4 separate regions of the Homo sapiens genome follow, and regions 1, 2 and 4 are each linked to region 3. The links are contacts of gene promoters, found by promoter capture Hi-C in human tissues and cell types (Jung and others, 2019). All regions are on one chromosome and are shown on one strand. Each heading gives the region's core, a stretch centred on a gene start or on the middle of the fragment in contact. The rest is flanking DNA. Distances are from core to core; before and after follow the strand shown. Region 1 holds the start of FAHD2B (fumarylacetoacetate hydrolase domain containing 2B). Region 2 overlaps FER1L5 (fer-1 like family member 5). Region 3 holds the start of ANKRD39 (ankyrin repeat domain 39). Region 4 overlaps KANSL3 (KAT8 regulatory NSL complex subunit 3).

What was found. Contacts are between HindIII fragments. The study calls those that stand out against the background at their distance.
Region 1: a contact is called between the fragment with the promoter of FAHD2B here and the fragment with the promoter of ANKRD39 in region 3, in 2 of the 25 tissues and cell types used here (H1 embryonic stem cells and dorsolateral prefrontal cortex).
Region 2: a contact is called between a fragment that was not itself captured here and the fragment with the promoter of ANKRD39 in region 3, in 1 of the 25 tissues and cell types used here (stomach).
Region 4: a contact is called between a fragment that was not itself captured here and the fragment with the promoter of ANKRD39 in region 3, in 1 of the 25 tissues and cell types used here (small bowel).

Annotation. Positions count from the first base shown.
Region 1 is chr2:97,093,155-97,097,480 of GRCh38, reverse strand. FAHD2B (fumarylacetoacetate hydrolase domain containing 2B) reads left to right here and starts at 2,599. Exons shown (of 9, transcript NM_001320848.2): 1 at 2,599-2,780. The HindIII fragment of the contact is 11,159 bases long and covers 1-4,326 here.
Region 2 is chr2:96,675,945-96,680,303 of GRCh38, reverse strand. All of the region lies in intron 19 of FER1L5 (fer-1 like family member 5), which reads right to left. Among named protein-coding and RNA genes, the nearest start is that of FER1L5, 35 kb to the right of the region's middle. The HindIII fragment of the contact is 5,493 bases long and covers 1-4,359 here.
Region 3 is chr2:96,856,755-96,860,866 of GRCh38, reverse strand. ANKRD39 (ankyrin repeat domain 39) reads left to right here and starts at 2,851. Exons shown (of 4, transcript NM_016466.6): 1 at 2,851-2,979. The coding sequence starts at 2,880. It overlaps SEMA4C (semaphorin 4C), which reads left to right. Exons shown (of 15, transcript NM_017789.5): 15 at 1-1,149. The coding sequence ends at 241. RefSeq lists silencers at 2,321-2,990, 3,021-3,190. The HindIII fragment of the contact is 43,475 bases long and covers 1-4,112 here.
Region 4 is chr2:96,626,384-96,630,259 of GRCh38, reverse strand. The region is part of intron 3 of KANSL3 (KAT8 regulatory NSL complex subunit 3); the gene reads left to right. Among named protein-coding and RNA genes, the nearest start is that of KANSL3, 10 kb to the left of the region's middle. The HindIII fragment of the contact is 4,794 bases long and covers 34-3,876 here.

The DNA of each region.
Region 1 (4,326 bases), core at 1,350-3,849, 240 kb before region 3:
AAACAAAAATATAAATCTGGATTCCATAAAAAGAGAATTTATTCAAAAGGATTGTTGTGGGGGTTGGGGGGGGGACTATTACAATAAGGAGACAGTCTGACGATGTGATCCTCAAGTGTCTCAGAGGTTAGGCAAAGGGCTGACCTTGTATAGGGAGGCGTAAACGTGGCTAGAAAGAACTGTTATGGGAAAGTGAGCTGAGCAAGAGTGTCATGATCGAGCAGGTCTTACCATGCAGATAGCCTGTTCTCAGGAGGGACCCTCAGGAGGGCGGTGGGTTGGCACAAGCTGCGGGTGGGCCAAAGCTCAGGGGCTTGGAGAAGGAGAGAATCTGAACCAAGGTTTGGTTACAGGCATTTTGTTCTTATTGATCTGTGGGAACAAGCAGTCCAGCTAATCATTTATGATGCCAAGAATGGGAATTTAGAGGGTCTGTGTATGGTCTGGTCATGAGGGGACATTCAGGATTCTTATCCAAGCTATATGGAAAGTCACTGGTTCTTTCCAGTAGGGTGTTTTCTGGAACAAAGGAGTGGAGGGATTCCTTAATCTTCACTATTTCTAGGAGCAAAGGGCTAAGGTGCAACTCAATACTGTCAATAGTTAGGATTGAAATGGCTAGGTCATATGGTAGGAGTATGTTTAACTCTCTTCATACACTGCCAAATGATTTTCAATTGTAGTGATACTATTTTATAATCCCATAAGCAGTGTACAAGAATCCCAGGTCCTCCACATTCTTTCGAATACTTGGTATAATCAGTCTTCTTTGTCCATTCTAGTAGGTGTGAGACGGTGTCACACTGTGCTTGTAATTTGCATATCCTTAATTATTAATGATGTTGAGCATCTTTTCATGTCTTTCAATTTTCTATCTGTATATCTTCTTTGGTGAAGTGTCTGTTTAAATATTTTGTCCATTTAAAAAATTGAATTGTTTGATTTTATCTATTGATTTTAAGTGCTCTTTCTATATTCTGGATACAAGTCTTTTATCAAATATAGCCTCTGAAGATCTTTTCTTTCAGGCTGTAACTTAGCTTTTCAGAAAGTCTTTGGGAGCTATGGCTTAATGAAACACTTACGCCAGGTTCTCCTCAGCACATCCCCCTGATCACAGCCACCCCCATAGGCTCCATTTCTTTTTTTTTTTTTTTTTTTTTTTGAGACAGAGTCTCGCTCTGTTCCCCAGTGGTGTGATCTGGGCTCACTGCAAGCTCTGCCTCCCGGGTTCAGGCCATTCTCCTGCCTCAGCCTCCCGAATAGCTGGGACTACAGGCGCCCGCCAACACGCCCGGCTAATTTTTTGTATATTTAGTGGAGACGGCGTTTCATAATGTTGGCCGGGATGGTCTCGATCTCCTGATCTGATTCGCCCACCTTGGCCTCCCAAAGTGCTGGGATTACAGGTGTGAGCCACCGCACCCGGCCATAGGTTCCATTTCTATATCAGTGGTGACTTTCTGCAAGCTAGGCTGAAGTCCCAAGCTCCAGACCCACGTCTCCAACTGCCCACCGTTCAATGCCCTTTGGATGTCCCATGCAAATTGGAGCTCACTATCATCTCCCCAGACCCGCTGCTCCTCCAGAAGCCCTGTCTCCATGAACGGCCCTGCACCTACCGGGCTAGAGACCCAGGAGCCGGCCTTGTACCTGCTTCCTTCTCACTTCCACCTCCTGTCATCCAGAGCTGTCAGTTCTTCTTCCTGAACATCTCTGGACACTCACCTTCTCCGCCAAGCACCGCACCACCATTGTTCTCACCCGCACCACCCACCCAGATACCTTTCCTTAGACGGGTGGCCAGAGAAAAACTTCTCAAATAGAAGTCGGGCCATGGCACGCCACTGAGGACCTTCCAGCGGTCTCCTGTGCACTTAAACGAGGTCCAGACTCCTTTGTGGGACAAGTAAAGCTCTTGATGATCTGGTCCTTGAGTAATGTGGGGGCCTCTTGCCCAGAGCCCCTCACACTCTTCAAAGCCGGCAGCTGAAGAGCTGAGCAGTAGCTGTCTGTGGAGTTCAGCCACCGCTCCCCGCACGCCTGCCCTCTGCAGGGGATGGAGCACCGTTTCCCCACTTCCCCACCTGCGCCCAGCAGTGCAGGTGAAGGCCTGGCTGCGGAGAGTGGCTGGGAAACGCTGAGCTTTGGGGTCAGGAATGCCAGCTCCACTACTCACCGCCTGTGTCACCCTGGGAAAACAGCTCTGGCCCCAGGTTCTCCATAAGTAAAACAGGGTCACTCATCCCTCCCCTCCTTAACGACATATGTCAGAATCAGAAGCCACAAATCATTCTCTCCCACCCAGCACGCTGCCTTGGTCTCCTAGACCACTTTCCCCAACAATGGGAAAGGCGCCAGGCCCAGAACAAGGCCGAGACCGGATGAGGCCAGCGAAGCGCCCAGGGACAAACTTTCAGGCAGCGCCCACTCTCGGTCTCGGGCAATTGCAGGGTCCCTCCGAGAGCGACCGTCTCCAGAAAACGCGGCCGCCGCCTGCCTATGCCCTGAGCCTGAAGAGCCCCCGGCGCCGCCCGCCCCGCACTGGGCCCGCCCTCCGGGATTGGTGCCCTGCTAGGGGTGGTTGCCTGTGACGTCACAGGACGCGCCCGCTTCTCGCTGGAGTGCGCACCGAGCGGCAGTGACTTCGCCGCTGCTGTAGTTCCCCGGCTGGATGCGGTGACTGGTGCCAGTGCTCAGGCGCCCGCTGCCCTTGACCTCCCGCCCCGCGAGCCCTAACTCAGCGCAGGAGGACCGGCTGCCGCCGCCGCCGCCGCCAGGTAGACCAGGCCTGGCTGGGTTAGGCCAGAAGGGTGTCCCTGGCGCAGGTCTCCCGCGGAGGGCAGAACTAGAACCAGGTTCCCGGCCGTTTCCGACCACACGGATGGGGCGGACCCATGTGAGCCCTCACTAATTGCAGGGGACGAAGCTGGGCATATGGGGAAACTGGGGGTTTCCAGGCGAGTGGACGGTGGGATGGGATCCGACGTGCACACCCACGTTTCAGGCTACTGTTTCCACCTCACGTCGCCGCCCCTTTGCTTATGGACTCTTGCAGAGTTGGATTGAGCTCGGACTGTGTGACATAGTGGTTGTTGCAGAAGCCCCAGGGCCACTTTCTGACTAGTACCTTGGGCACCTGACGTCATCCCTTTGAGTCTCAGTGTCCTCTTCTGTAAAGTGAGGGCGCTTTACCTGAGGGGATTGCTGTAAGGTTGGAATGAACCTGCATGTGTGTGTCATGTGGGAAGGGAACAGTCAATGGGGCCTGGAGTTCTCTTGGAGAGCTGGTAACCAGCCTCGTCCCTGAGGCAATAGCCAGAGAGCGCCTGTAGTTTCCCCACGCATGGCTGTTTGCAGGGCCTCTGGAGGATCTCCTGTGGGAGGTCCCTACTTCTCACTACAATCTTTAGGGCCTTTGGAGGATTTCCTATGGAAGGTCCCCACTTCTCACCACAACATTCTGGGTTAAAATGTCCTTGGTAGGAAGATGGGGCTGAAGCTAGATTTTCTTGCTTGCATTACAGGCTTCTGAACCAAGGACTTCAATGTCACCTGGACTTGGATTCACATCCCAGCTCCCTCCCCTCCTAGCTTTAAGACTGTGTAACCTTGGGCAAATCCCTTAACCGCTTTAAGCCTTAACTGTTTCATCTGTAAAATGGGACTAACAGTACCTACCTTCCACAAGCGTCAAGAATTAAATCAGGCCGGGCGCCGTGGCTCACTCCTGTAATACCAACAATTTGGGAGGCCGAGGTGGGCGGATCACAAGGTCAGGAGATCGAGACCATCCTGGCTAACTCAGTGAAACACCGTCTCTACTAAAAATACAAAAATTAGCCGGGCGTGGCGGCATGCGCCTGTAGTCCCAGCTGCTGGGGAGGCTGAGGCAGGAGAATGGCATGAACCCGGGAGGCAGAGCTTGCAGTGAGCCAAGATTGCGCCACTGCACTCCAGCCTGGGCGACAGAGCGAGACTCCATCTCAAAAAAAAAAAAAAAAAAAAAGAATTAAATCAGACATTGTAGGTAGAGCACTTAATAGTTGGCATTCAGCGGCAGCAGTTACTGTTATGTTAGCATGTGGAGTGTCTGAGTGTGTGCACTTTGGCTCGAACAGCCTTTTGACAGTGGCACAGTTGGTGCTTGTGTAAGATAGCAGGGCAGAGAAGTCAAAACTCTGTTTTCTAGTCAAACTGGCGGGCCACAACAGTGGTGACCTAAGTCTAATGAGTCTTTAACTGAACAAGGCAGATTGAATCTCCAAGTGAGGACCAAGAGTCTGGGGCTCAGCTGCCTCAACATTTTTGGGCATAGAAGGCTGT
Region 2 (4,359 bases), core at 1,293-3,792, 180 kb after region 3:
GGAATGATAAATAAGCAGAGATGCATGCCTGGGGCTCTCAGTGTGAGGATACACAACAGCAATTTTCCTCTCCTACTCTTGGAGAACTTACAAAAGCAACAAGCAGAAGGAAAATAACTCAGTTTTCAGCAAACCAAGGAGACAGATATAATCTGCAGACTCAAAATACACGTAAGGACTGCCAAAAGCAACTGTGACCGCCACCGAAGCCAAGGGGTGAAGCGCAGCAGCAGCAGCCACCTGCGGGACACGACTAGCAAGACAGACAGCGGGAAGCATGCTGAGTAGGGGCAGATTGCAGAAAGTGCCAGCAAAAACACACTCCCTGAAGGAGCTCAGGAGCTTATGAGGCAATGTGAGCCCGTAAACTTCAGAAAACAAGTAGAAGAAAAAACAAAAACAGAGATGGGAAGGTAACATAAGTAGTCCACGGGAGATTAGATGCTGCAGACAATTCAGTGAGGGGCATGGAAATAAGGATAGAAATAAGAAAAGTAACCGAAATGAAATGGAAAGAATAGGTCAAAAAAGGATCAGGGAGAAAATGACAGATACAGATAAAACCAAGGAGAATCACTAAACCCATAAATGGAGCCTCTGATGTAGAAAATTAAACAATGGAACAGAGTAAGTATTTTAACATGTAACCTAGGAAAACACATGAGGAAAGGATGGTCTTTTTAACAAATGTTGCTTGAACAACTGGATATTCACATGCAAATTAATTCAAAATGAATCATACAGATAAGTGTAAGAGGTAAAACTGTAAAAACTACAGGTGTGGCCGGGTGCGGTGGCTCACGCCTGTAATCCCAGCACTTTGGGAGGCTGAAGCGGGTGGATCACGAGGTCACGAGATCGAGACCAGCCTGACCAACATGGTGAAACCCCGTCTCTACTAAAAATAGAAAAATTAGCTGGGCGTGGTGACACGCGCCTGTAATCTCAGCTACTCAGGAGGCTGAGGCAGGAGAATTGCTTGAACCTGGGAAGTGGAGGTTGCAGTGAGCCGAGATTGTGCCACTGCACTCCAGCCTGGTGAGGGAGCGAGACGCCATCTCAAAAAAAAAAAAAACTATAGGTGTGTGTCGCCATGCCCAGCTAATTTTTTAAAAAATTTCTGTAGGATCTCGCCATGTTGCCCAGGCTGGTCTTGAACTCCTGGGCTCAAGTGATCTGCCTCAGCCTCCCAAAGTGTTGGGATTACAGGCGTGAGCCACCACACCCAGCCAAAACTAGAAAACTTAGAAGAAAAAATAGGAGAAAAATCTTCACAATCATGAGTTAACCAAAGAGTTCTTAGCTATAACACCATAAAAGAAAAAATAAATTGGATTTTATCAAATTAAAAATGTTGGCACTTCAAAAGACACTACTAAGAAAATGAAAAGACAAGCCACAGACAATTTGCAAATCACATATCTGGTACAGGACTTGTATGCAGAATATATAATGAATTATTGCAACTCAATAATAAGAGAAACAATGCAATTTAAAAACAGGCAACACATTTGAATAGACATATCACTAAAGAAGATAAATGAATGGTTAATGAGCACATGAAAAGATGTGGCCAGGCACAATGGCTCATGCCTGTAATCCCAGCACTTTGGGAGGCCAAGGTGGGTGGATTGCTTGAGCCCAGGAGTTCAAGAACAGCCTGGACAAAATGGAGAAACTCCGTCTCTACTAAAAATACAAAAATTAGCCAGGTGTGGTGGTGCGTGCCTGTAGTCCCAGCTACTTGGGAGTCAGGTGGGAGGATCACCTGAGCCCTGGAAGCACAGGTTGCCATGAGCCCGTGATTGCACCACTGCACTCCAGCTTGGGTGTCAGAGCGAGACCCTGTCTCAAAGAATAGAAAATAAAAATAGGCTGAGTGCAGTGGCTCACACCTGTAATCCCAGCACTTTGGGAGGCCGAGGTGGGTGGATTGCTTGAGCCCAGGAGTTTTGAGACCAGGCTGGGCAACATGGTGAAACCCTGTCTCTACGAAAAATACAAAATCTAGCCGGGCGTGGTGGCACATGCCTGTAGTCCCAGCTACTTGGTGGGGCTGAGGAAAGAGAATTGCTTGAACCCGGGGGGCGGGCGGAGGTTGCAGTGAGCTGGGATTGCCCCACTGCACTCCAGCCTGGGTGTCAGAGCGAGATTCGGTCTCAAAAAATAAATCAATAAATAATAAAAATTAAAAAAAAAAAGGTGCTCAGTGTCATTACATGAAATGCAGATTAACACAACGATGAGCTGCCACTGTGTGCCTACTATACTAAATAAAGACAGATGATAAATGAGAAACTGAAATCATCTTACATTTCTAGGAGAATATAAAATGGTGTGGCCACTTTGGAAAAGCTTGGCAGTTTCTTAAAAAGCCATTCCACTTAAAGACTTGTATACGAATGTTCACAGCAGCTTTATTCTTTTTTTTTTTTTTTGAGACGGAGTTTCGCTCTTGTTGCCCAGGCTGGAGTGCAATGGTGTGATCTCAGCTCACTGCAACCTCCGCCTCCTGGGTTCAAGCAATTCTCCTGCCTCAGCCTCCTGAGTAGCTGGGATTACAGGCATGTGCCACCATGCCCGGGTAATTTTGTATTTTTAGTAGAGACGGGGTTTCACCATGTTGGTCAGGCTGGTCTCGAACTCCCGACCTCAGGTGATCCACCCGCCTCAGCCTCCCAAAGTGCTAGGATTACAGGAGTGAGCCACCGTGCCCGGGCAGCTTTATTCTTAATAGCTAAGAGGTGGGAACAATGCCCATCAACTGATGAATGGATTAACAAATGATGGATGGTACACCCATACGATGGAATACTATTTGGCAATGAAAAGGAATGGAGAACTGATACACACTGCATCATGGATAAACCTGGAAAACATTACGCCAAGTGAAGGAAGCCAGATGCAAAAGATGACATATTGTATAATTTCATTTATATGAAACATCCAGGAAAAGTAAATATGCAGAGACAAAAGTAGATTAATAGTTGTGTGGACCTGGGGGTGGGGACAGGGGAGTCACTACAAAGCAAGAGAATTCTGTGGTATGTAAATTACATCATTAAATAGATTACTAACAAAATAAGATTTTACTCATCAACATAGATGCAAAAGCCTCAACAAAATATTAGCAAGCCAATTCCAGAATGTATAACAAAGATAGGACGGGCATCGTGGCCCACGCCTGTAATCCCAGCACTTTAGGAAGCTGAGGCGAGCGGATGACCTGAGGTCAGGAGTTCGAGACCAGCCTGGCCAACGTGGCGAAACCCTATCTCTACTAAAAATACAAAAATTAGCTGGGCGTGGTGGCACACTCCTGTAATCCCAGCTACTGGGGAGGCTGAAGCAGGAGTATCACTTGAACCCGGGAACCCAAGAGGCAGACCGCCGCACTCCGGCCTGGGCGACAGAGTGAGACTCCGTCCCAAAAATATTTAAAAAAAGGTATAACAAAGATAATGTAAGGTATCAATGCAATTATACTGTAATTAATTGCATGGTATATTACATATAATAAAACAATTATTTCTGTGAGGTGGCATATTATTAACTCAAAGTAGACTATGATGAGTTAAGGGTCAATATTGTAATTCCTTGAGCAACCACTAAAAATAATCCAAAGATACATATTGTCAATAGATAGAATGTAATACTAAAAAAAAAAAAAAACAAAAAATACCTGATGAAAACGAACACAGGAAATTCCAGTGGCCTTTTTTGTAGAAATTGTTGAGCTTATGCTAAAATAGGAAAATGGGAAGTAACCCATTTTCAACAAAAGTCCAACCCAAAGACTTGTACAATAGCCAAAATTATTTTGTAAAAGAACAACTAGGCCGGGCCCAGCGGCTCACGCTTGTAATTCCAGCACTTTGGGAGGCTGAGGTGGGCAGATCACCTGAGGTCGGGAGTTTGAGACCAGCCTGATCAACATGGAGAAACTCCATCTCTACTAAAAATACAAAATTAGGCATGGTGGCGCATGCCTGTAATCCCAGCTACTTGGGAGGCTGAGGCAGGAGAATTGCTTGAACCCAGGAGGCGGAGGTTGTGGTGGATAAGGATAGGCAAATAGATCAATAATATGGTTAACTGATTTTCAACAAAGGTGGCAAAGTAATTCAATGTGGGACTGAATTACTGAATTACTTTCAGGCAAATGGTGCTCCACTGGTTATCTGTATAGAGAAAAATAATCTCAATTCCTCCCTCATACCATATGCAAAAATTAAGTCAAATTGGATCATAAACCCAAACAAAAAAGATAAAACGATAAAGCTTGTAGAATGAAACAGAGGAGACAATTTTCATGATCTTGAGATAGACAGATATTTCTTAGACCACATAATCTACTAA
Region 3 (4,112 bases), core at 1,602-4,101:
CGGTGGGGGGCCCCCTTCGCCACCTCCAGGCATCCCAGGCCAGCCTCTGCCTTCTCCAACTCGGCTTCACCTGGGGGGTGGGCGGAACTCAAATGCCAATGGTTACGTGCGCTTACAACTAGGAGGGGAGGACCGGGGAGGGCTCGGGCACCCCCTGCCTGAGCTCGCGGATGAACTGAGACGCAAACTGCAGCAACGCCAGCCACTGCCCGACTCCAACCCCGAGGAGTCATCAGTATGAGGGGAACCCCCACCGCGTCGGCGGGAAGCGTGGGAGGTGTAGCTCCTACTTTTGCACAGGCACCAGCTACCTCAGGGACATGGCACGGGCACCTGCTCTGTCTGGGACAGATACTGCCCAGCACCCACCCGGCCATGAGGACCTGCTCTGCTCAGCACGGGCACTGCCACTTGGTGTGGCTCACCAGGGCACCAGCCTCGCAGAAGGCATCTTCCTCCTCTCTGTGAATCACAGACACGCGGGACCCCAGCCGCCAAAACTTTTCAAGGCAGAAGTTTCAAGATGTGTGTTTGTCTGTATTTGCACATGTGTTTGTGTGTGTGTGTATGTGTGTGTGCACGCGCGTGCGCGCTTGTGGCATAGCCTTCCTGTTTCTGTCAAGTCTTCCCTTGGCCTGGGTCCTCCTGGTGAGTCATTGGAGCTATGAAGGGGAAGGGGTCGTATCACTTTGTCTCTCCTACCCCCACTGCCCCGAGTGTCGGGCAGCGATGTACATATGGAGGTGGGGTGGACAGGGTGCTGTGCCCCTTCAGAGGGAGTGCAGGGCTTGGGGTGGGCCTAGTCCTGCTCCTAGGGCTGTGAATGTTTTCAGGGTGGGGGGAGGGAGATGGAGCCTCCTGTGTGTTTGGGGGGAAGGGTGGGTGGGGCCTCCCACTTGGCCCCGGGGTTCAGTGGTATTTTATACTTGCCTTCTTCCTGTACAGGGCTGGGAAAGGCTGTGTGAGGGGAGAGAAGGGAGAGGGTGGGCCTGCTGTGGACAATGGCATACTCTCTTCCAGCCCTAGGAGGAGGGCTCCTAACAGTGTAACTTATTGTGTCCCCGCGTATTTATTTGTTGTAAATATTTGAGTATTTTTATATTGACAAATAAAATGGAGAAAATGAAACGATTGCTCTGATGGGGCTAAGATGTTTGGGCTAAAGCCTTTCTGGGTACCAAGAGGGAAGGCTCTCTGGGTGGAGGGAGGCTGGACTGGGCCTCCCCCACAATCCCAGGGCAGCCACCACTTTTGTGGTCCCTGCCTGCCTGTGGGAGGGGACAGCCCAGCTCTAGTGTTTTCCCACAGTGGTGGCTGCGGGGCTGGGAACGAGACCATGGCCATAGCCCCTTGGGAGCCAGCCTTGGCTTCTGGCCAGAAGGAGAAGTCAGGGCACTGGGAGTCCAGGGGAGAAGCGGAGTGGTGGGGGGGGTGCCTTCCCAGAACTCAAGACGGGTAGTGGGAATGAGGGGCCAAAGGAGTGGAAGGTTGTGGAGATGAGATCATTGCTTGTGTGAGGATGGGGTTCTCAACCTGCTTAGGGGAGGAGAAACGACTTCCAGCCTTCTACCCACCAGGAATGCTAGGGTCTTCCGTGCCCCAACTAGCGGGGGAAGGAACTTACATCCAGTGTGCACCAGACCACTGTCCTGGAGAGGGACTGGCACAGAACCCAACCTGCATTCTGTCGTTCATGCACTCTTTCTAAGCCGATCAGGCGGTCTCCCCTGTACACTTGATCGTGGCTTGAGCAGGCAGCTGCCTGGGTTTTAACTGGGAATTGAGAAGGCTGGGGTCCGCTGAGGAGCACGCTGCGAAGGTGCGCGGTCCGCAGACGGCCTCCCGGTGGGTTTTGATCATGAAGACCGATTCCGTAAACTCAGCGCCCACTGTGGGGCCAGGGGGTTCTGCACAAACCAAGGCCCTGCCCCTGCCCTGAGGTGGAGCTACAGGCAGGACAAGTTGTGGCCACCTGCCCCTTGCTGGACTTGTAAGGAAGAGCAGGGTACGGGGAGGGGCGTCTCGAGGCCTTTCCAGCCGTCACTTTGCCGCTGCCCCGGGGGCGGTCGGCCTTGGTCCGGGGTGGTGCCAGGAAGAGGGGCTAAAAACCGTGGAGCGCGCCCCGGCCCGATGGCTCACGCCTGTAATCCCAGCACTTTGGGAGGCCAAGGTGAGCGGATCACGAGGTCAAGAGATCGAGACCATCCTGGCGAAACCCCGTCTCTACTAAAAAATACAAAAAATTAGCCGGGCGTGGTGGCGGGCGCCTGTAGTCCCAGCTACTCAGGAGTCTGACGCAGGAGAATCGCTTGAACCCGGGAGGCGGAGGTTGCAGTGAGCCGAGATCGCGCCACTGCACACAAGTCTGGGTGACAGCGAGACTCCGTCTCAAAAAAAAAAAAAAAAAAAAAAAAGACCGCGGAGCGCGTGGCGCCTCCCTGCCCTAGGGACTAGGGGCGGTAAAGAGAGGAGGCTGCGAGGTCGCTGGACGGCTGGGTCATGGCGAAGGTAACGGGAAAGCTCCCGACCGGACCCAGCTGCCTCATCCCCACACCCTGCAAGGCCAGGCGGCCCGGCGGCCCTCCAGCGGCGCGCGGCTCCCGGAACCCAGCGCCTCAGTCCTCGCTTGGCCTTGGACGCCCTCGCGCGGAGGCCTCGGGGCACGGCCGGGCGCAACAAGCCCCGCCCTACCGTTGCAATTGGTTCTCGAGCTAAGGCCTAGGCGTTTGATTGGTCAGCTTTGGCGAGAAGGCGGGACTAGGGCGACAGCCGCGGACGCCGAGCGGCCAGATCAGGGACGCGGGGCGGGCCCTGCGTCCGCCCCTCCCGCCGAGGCTGAGCCTGAGACCCGGGGCGGATCGACTGACGCCGGGGCCGGGATGGCGACGCCTCGGCCCTGCGCGGACGGGCCCTGCTGCTCGCATCCCAGCGCGGTGCTCGGCGTACAGCAGACGCTGGAGGAGATGGACTTCGAGAGGGGTGAGGCTGCCGCGCGGCCCTCGTGGTTCTCACCAGGCCCCGGCCCAAGGAGGAGGCGTGGGGCCAAGGAGAGGCGGATGAACGGGGCCCCGAGAGCTTGGGGCTTGGGGCTTGGGGCCTGGTGCGGGAAGGCGGGCGGGACCCACGGTTCCCGTGTACTGAGAGCCTCCCAGGGCCCCGCACGAGCTCGGCCAGGAGACACCTGTCCCGCGGGCGGCGGGGAAGCGGAAGCACTGGTTTCCGTAACCCTCCCGAGTAGCGGGGGACGACCTCCCCTGGGAGACACAAGCCTGCTCAGGTGTTTGAGAGAGGGCCCGGGGAGCAGAATCTGCACCAGGGGCATTGCACCCAACCTGAGGGGCATGGAGCTGCAGGCCTGGGGGCTGCGCGGTGAAGGAGAGCAGTGGCCTTTGTTTAGCCCCGGGTGCCAGGCAGCCTGCATGCTTTAAAGATGGCAAGAGCTTCGCACGGGCAGCCTTCGAGGCAGGGCACAGTATCTCATCTGTGGGACCCAGAGAGGTAACACGTTTGGCCCAGATTATACAGAGATTATGGTGCCAATAGGAACAGAGGAAGGCGGGAAACCAGGGTGCTTCTTGTGAGCGTTGGGAACCACTGTGCTGTGTCATCTGCCCTTGCGGATGCAGCCCTCGATTGCCACTGCTGTGTAAGCATTCTCATGGAACTCTTCCTTTACCGTGGTTCTGGCACCTGCCTACTTCCCTCCGCCCCTCCTACCGCTGTCCTCTGCACTGCTGAAGTGGTTGCCTCAGAGGGTCTTTCTGCTTCCACGCTTGCCTTCCTACAGGGTTTTCTACTCTCACATAGCAGCCAGAGCGGCTTTTTGAAAATTAGAAATCACATCATTCCCTGTTATGGCCTACAAAGCTCTGTAGACCCACCCCTGCCGGTTCTACTTCTCCTCCTCATTTTATTTCTCATGCTTTTCTTCCCCCAATCACTACGCCGCAGCCACACTGGTCTTGTTTTGGTGTCTCAAATATGCAAGACCTTTTCCTGAGTTAAGGCCGTTGGACTTGCTGTCCCATCTCCTTAGAATGAACTTCCTACAACCGTTAAGCTAGCTGATGCTTTTCTTCAGATCCCAGCTCCAATGTCATCTCCTCAGAGAC
Region 4 (3,876 bases), core at 1,181-3,680, 230 kb after region 3:
ATTTTTTGGCAATTGTGAATAATGCTATTATGAACATTTGCATACAAGTTTTTGTGTGGATCTAAGTTTTTAATTCTCTTAGTTATATACCTGGGAGTGGACTTGTTGGGTCATATGATAACTCTGTATTTAACCTTTGAGGAATTGCCAGACTGTTTTCCAAAGTGGCTGTACCATTTTACATTCCTACCAGCAGTGTATGAGAGTTCTAGTTTCTCCATATCCTTGCCAACACTTACTGATTTTCTTCTTTTTTAAAAAAATTATAACCATTCTACTGCGTGTAAAGTGGCATCTCATTGTGGTTTCAACTTATATTTTGTTGATGGCTTTTTGTCTGTGTATCCATATATCTACTATATATATAAGGAAATGTTACTTCTTATATCAGGAGTTGGTAGGTGGTAACTTTCCATAATTTTGGAGAACCCTTATTTTATAATAGAGAGAAAGAGGGGTAGAAAGTTTGAGGTGATTGACATGACTTCTGAAGCTGGTTGGAAGTTGGGAATGAGATTGAACAGGTGTGCTTGTGTGATCAAAACAGCAGCTGTTGAGGGAGGAGCAGTTCTGCACCTTGGTTGAAAAAGCTTGTGAAGAAGTTGGTTGGGGTCTTGCATTGGAATTAATTTAGTGCCTTAAGAAGCTCTTTTCTCACGCCTGTAATCCCAGTACTTTGGGAGGTTGAGGCGGGTGGATCACCTGAGGTCGGGAGTTCAAGACCAGCCTGACCAACATGGAGAAACTCTGTCTCTGCTAAAAATACAAAATTAGCTGGGTGTGGTGGCGCATGCCTGTAATCCCAGCTACTCGGGAGGCTGAGGCAGGAGAATCACTTGAACCTGGGAGGCGGAGGTTGTGGTGAGCCGAGATCGTGCCATTGCACTCCAGTCTGGGCACCAAGAGTGAAACACCATCTCAAAAAAAGAAAAAAAAGCTCTTTTGAGCTTCAGATAAAGAAGAAAACTGCTACGAATGAAGATCAACTACTGGAATATTGCTAGAGTCAGTATATTCAGCAAAAGGATTTATCACTATTTTTACAGTTAATAATAAAAAATAACGACGATGGTAATAACAAAAAGGAGCTACCGTTTGTTGAGTGCTTTCTAGGTGCCAGACATTGTATCAATGTCTCTTCAAATGCATTGTCTCTTAATCCTCCCAATGACTCTTGGAGGTATATCCCCCCTTCATCTCTGCTCAACAGGATGAAGAAACTGAGCTCAGGGTGTTTAAGAAACCTTAATTAGGAAGTGATGGAGAAGGATTTTGTTCAAACCAAGCAGCCTGACTCCAGAACCCAGTGTTCTCAACTACCATACCCTCTGCCTTAATTAAGGGCAGTAAGAAGAGATTAAGACCAGTTAGTGGTGGCTGAACAAGGTGGCCTGGTATGGTTATGTATCCCTTTGTGGTATTTTCTACTACCTTGTCCTTTGCAATTTCAGAAAGTACATAGGAGAACTGTGTGATTTTTTTTTTTTTTGTCAGTTTATCCATGGTTATGATTAAGAGGTTTTTGTGGACAATTCATACTTATCAAAGTCATTAGAGACTTAATAATACTATAAATACCAGTTTGTTTCTTTTTTCTTTTTTTTGAGACAGGGTCTCACTCTGTCACCCAGACTGCAGTGCAGTGGCACGATCTCAGCTCACTACAAGCCTTGACCTCCAGGACTCAGGTGATTCTCCCGGGTGGGAACCTTAACCTCCCAAGTAGCTGGGACTACAGGAGTACGTCACCATTTCTTAATTTTTGTAGTTTTTGTAGAGATTGGGTTTCACCATGTTGCCTAGGCTGGTCTCAAACTCCTGGCTCAAGTGGTCTGCCCACCTTTGCCTCCCAAAGTGCTAGGATTATAGGTGTGAGCCACTGCACTTGGCTGAGTTTCTTAATTTATAAGGAGAGATATAACTGCAAAGCATAAGAGACACTGGGGTGGCCTGGCCAGAGTGTCTGTTCTCAGCAGGAAAGTCTGGAAAACCATTTTATTTCAGAAGTGAATAGATGAGTGGAGAGTCTACACAGGAGGCACAGCAGAATAGCTGGATGTACACATCTTTCCTCTAGGCAAGATGAGTCCACGGAATAGGCCAGTGTGCACCTTCTCCTGCCTGTCCTTTAGAGAAACACTGACAGATTCTTGTCTTTGGCTTATCTTTCTCCAGTCTCCTTGTGGACCACCACCCTTCTGTTATGACATTGCCACATTGCCACAGATTGATGTAATCCATTAAAGCTCAATTTATCAGATTATTTGTTTTCTTAGTGTCTGATGAGATTTTGGAGGCCTTCTCTCATTGGCAGCAGGCTTACACACCATCTCTTTTGGTAGGTAACTTTTGTACATAGCCGATTTTATTATTTATGATAACTTATTAGTTTCAGTTTCAGATACCACCATTTTATGACCCTGTCCCTGAATCTGTAGCCTGTTTGGAGCTTGCAGTTCCTTCTGCTCTGATTATAATCATCGTGTTGCCATTCTTTCCCTGACTTGATTGTTAAATTGCTGCTTCCTTTCTTCTTATATAAAGTCATGTAAAATTAGTTTGCCACATCAAGAGCTCCATGAACGGTGTAGGTCGGCTCCCTAGAACTCTGGAGTTCTTTCCCGGAGAGTTTACTGATTGCTCTTTGTCTGTGGAGGCAGAAACTTAATTTCCTTGTTAAGAGCTTTTTTCCTCTCTCTTGAATGATTTCAGTAGAAACTGTCTTCAGATAGCTTTGTGTATATAGGCTAGGCGCAGTAGCTCTCGCCTGTAATCCCAGCACTTTGGGAGGCTGAGGCGGGAAGATAATTTGAGGTGAGGAGTTTGAGACCAGCCTGACCAACATAGTGAAACCCCGTCTCTACTAAAAATAGTAAAAATTAGCTGGTGTGGTGGCAAACGCCTGTAATCTCAGCTACTCGGGAGGCTGAGGCAGGAGAATCTCTTGAACCTGGAAGGCAGAGGTTGCAGTGAGCCGAGATCGTGCCACTGCACTCCAGCCCGGGCAACAGAGCAAGACTCCGTCTCAAAAAAAAAAAAGAAGCATGTTCCTCCCTTCCCTGCCCCTGACTCTGGCTTTCTTTATTAATGGCTGATATTTTGTGAAATGGTTTAAATATTACTACCTTATTTAATTGTCTGCATTAGTGGTTGTCTAACTATGACAGTGGGCTGATTTAAATTTGGCCCATTGCTTGTTTTTGTGTGGAATGATTTTTACATTTTTAAATAGTTGCAAAAAAATTAATACTGTTTCATGACACATGAAATTAAAATTTCGGTGTGCATAAGCTTTTATTGAGATACAGTCATATTCATTAGGTATTATCCATGGCTGCTTTTGCAGTAAAGCCACAAAATTGAATAGTGGCAGAAGCCATATGGCCTGGAAACCCTAAAACATTTTCTGTCCGGCCTCTTATAGAAAAAGTGAGCTTCCTGGGTCATGTTCTTGTGTCTGCGTGCCATGGCATGTGACTTAGAGGACCTTTGAAAATGATTTCTATTTGCTGGCATAGTGATGTAGTCCTGAAGATGTTGGGCCAGCTTTTTTTTCCCTCCAGATGTTTGTCAAATGTGAAGTTTCATTAGTTGCATAGCTTTTGAAAGACATTTAATAAAATTTTCCTGACACATGATACTTCTCAGAATTGCTCAAATGGATTTTAGGACATTTCCAACATTTTAGTGAAAGAATGTAGTAGTATCCAAAAGCAGGCTTTCTTATCTTAGAAATCAGAACTTCTGAATTCCAGCCAAAAACACCCCATTTTCCTTTTCTGAGCCTTCTTTAGTTTTATATTCAATATTGTATGTATCTGTATAAATCTTAGGTTGGATGTTTGAAATTTTAAGTCCAAGGTCTTTGAGTTATCG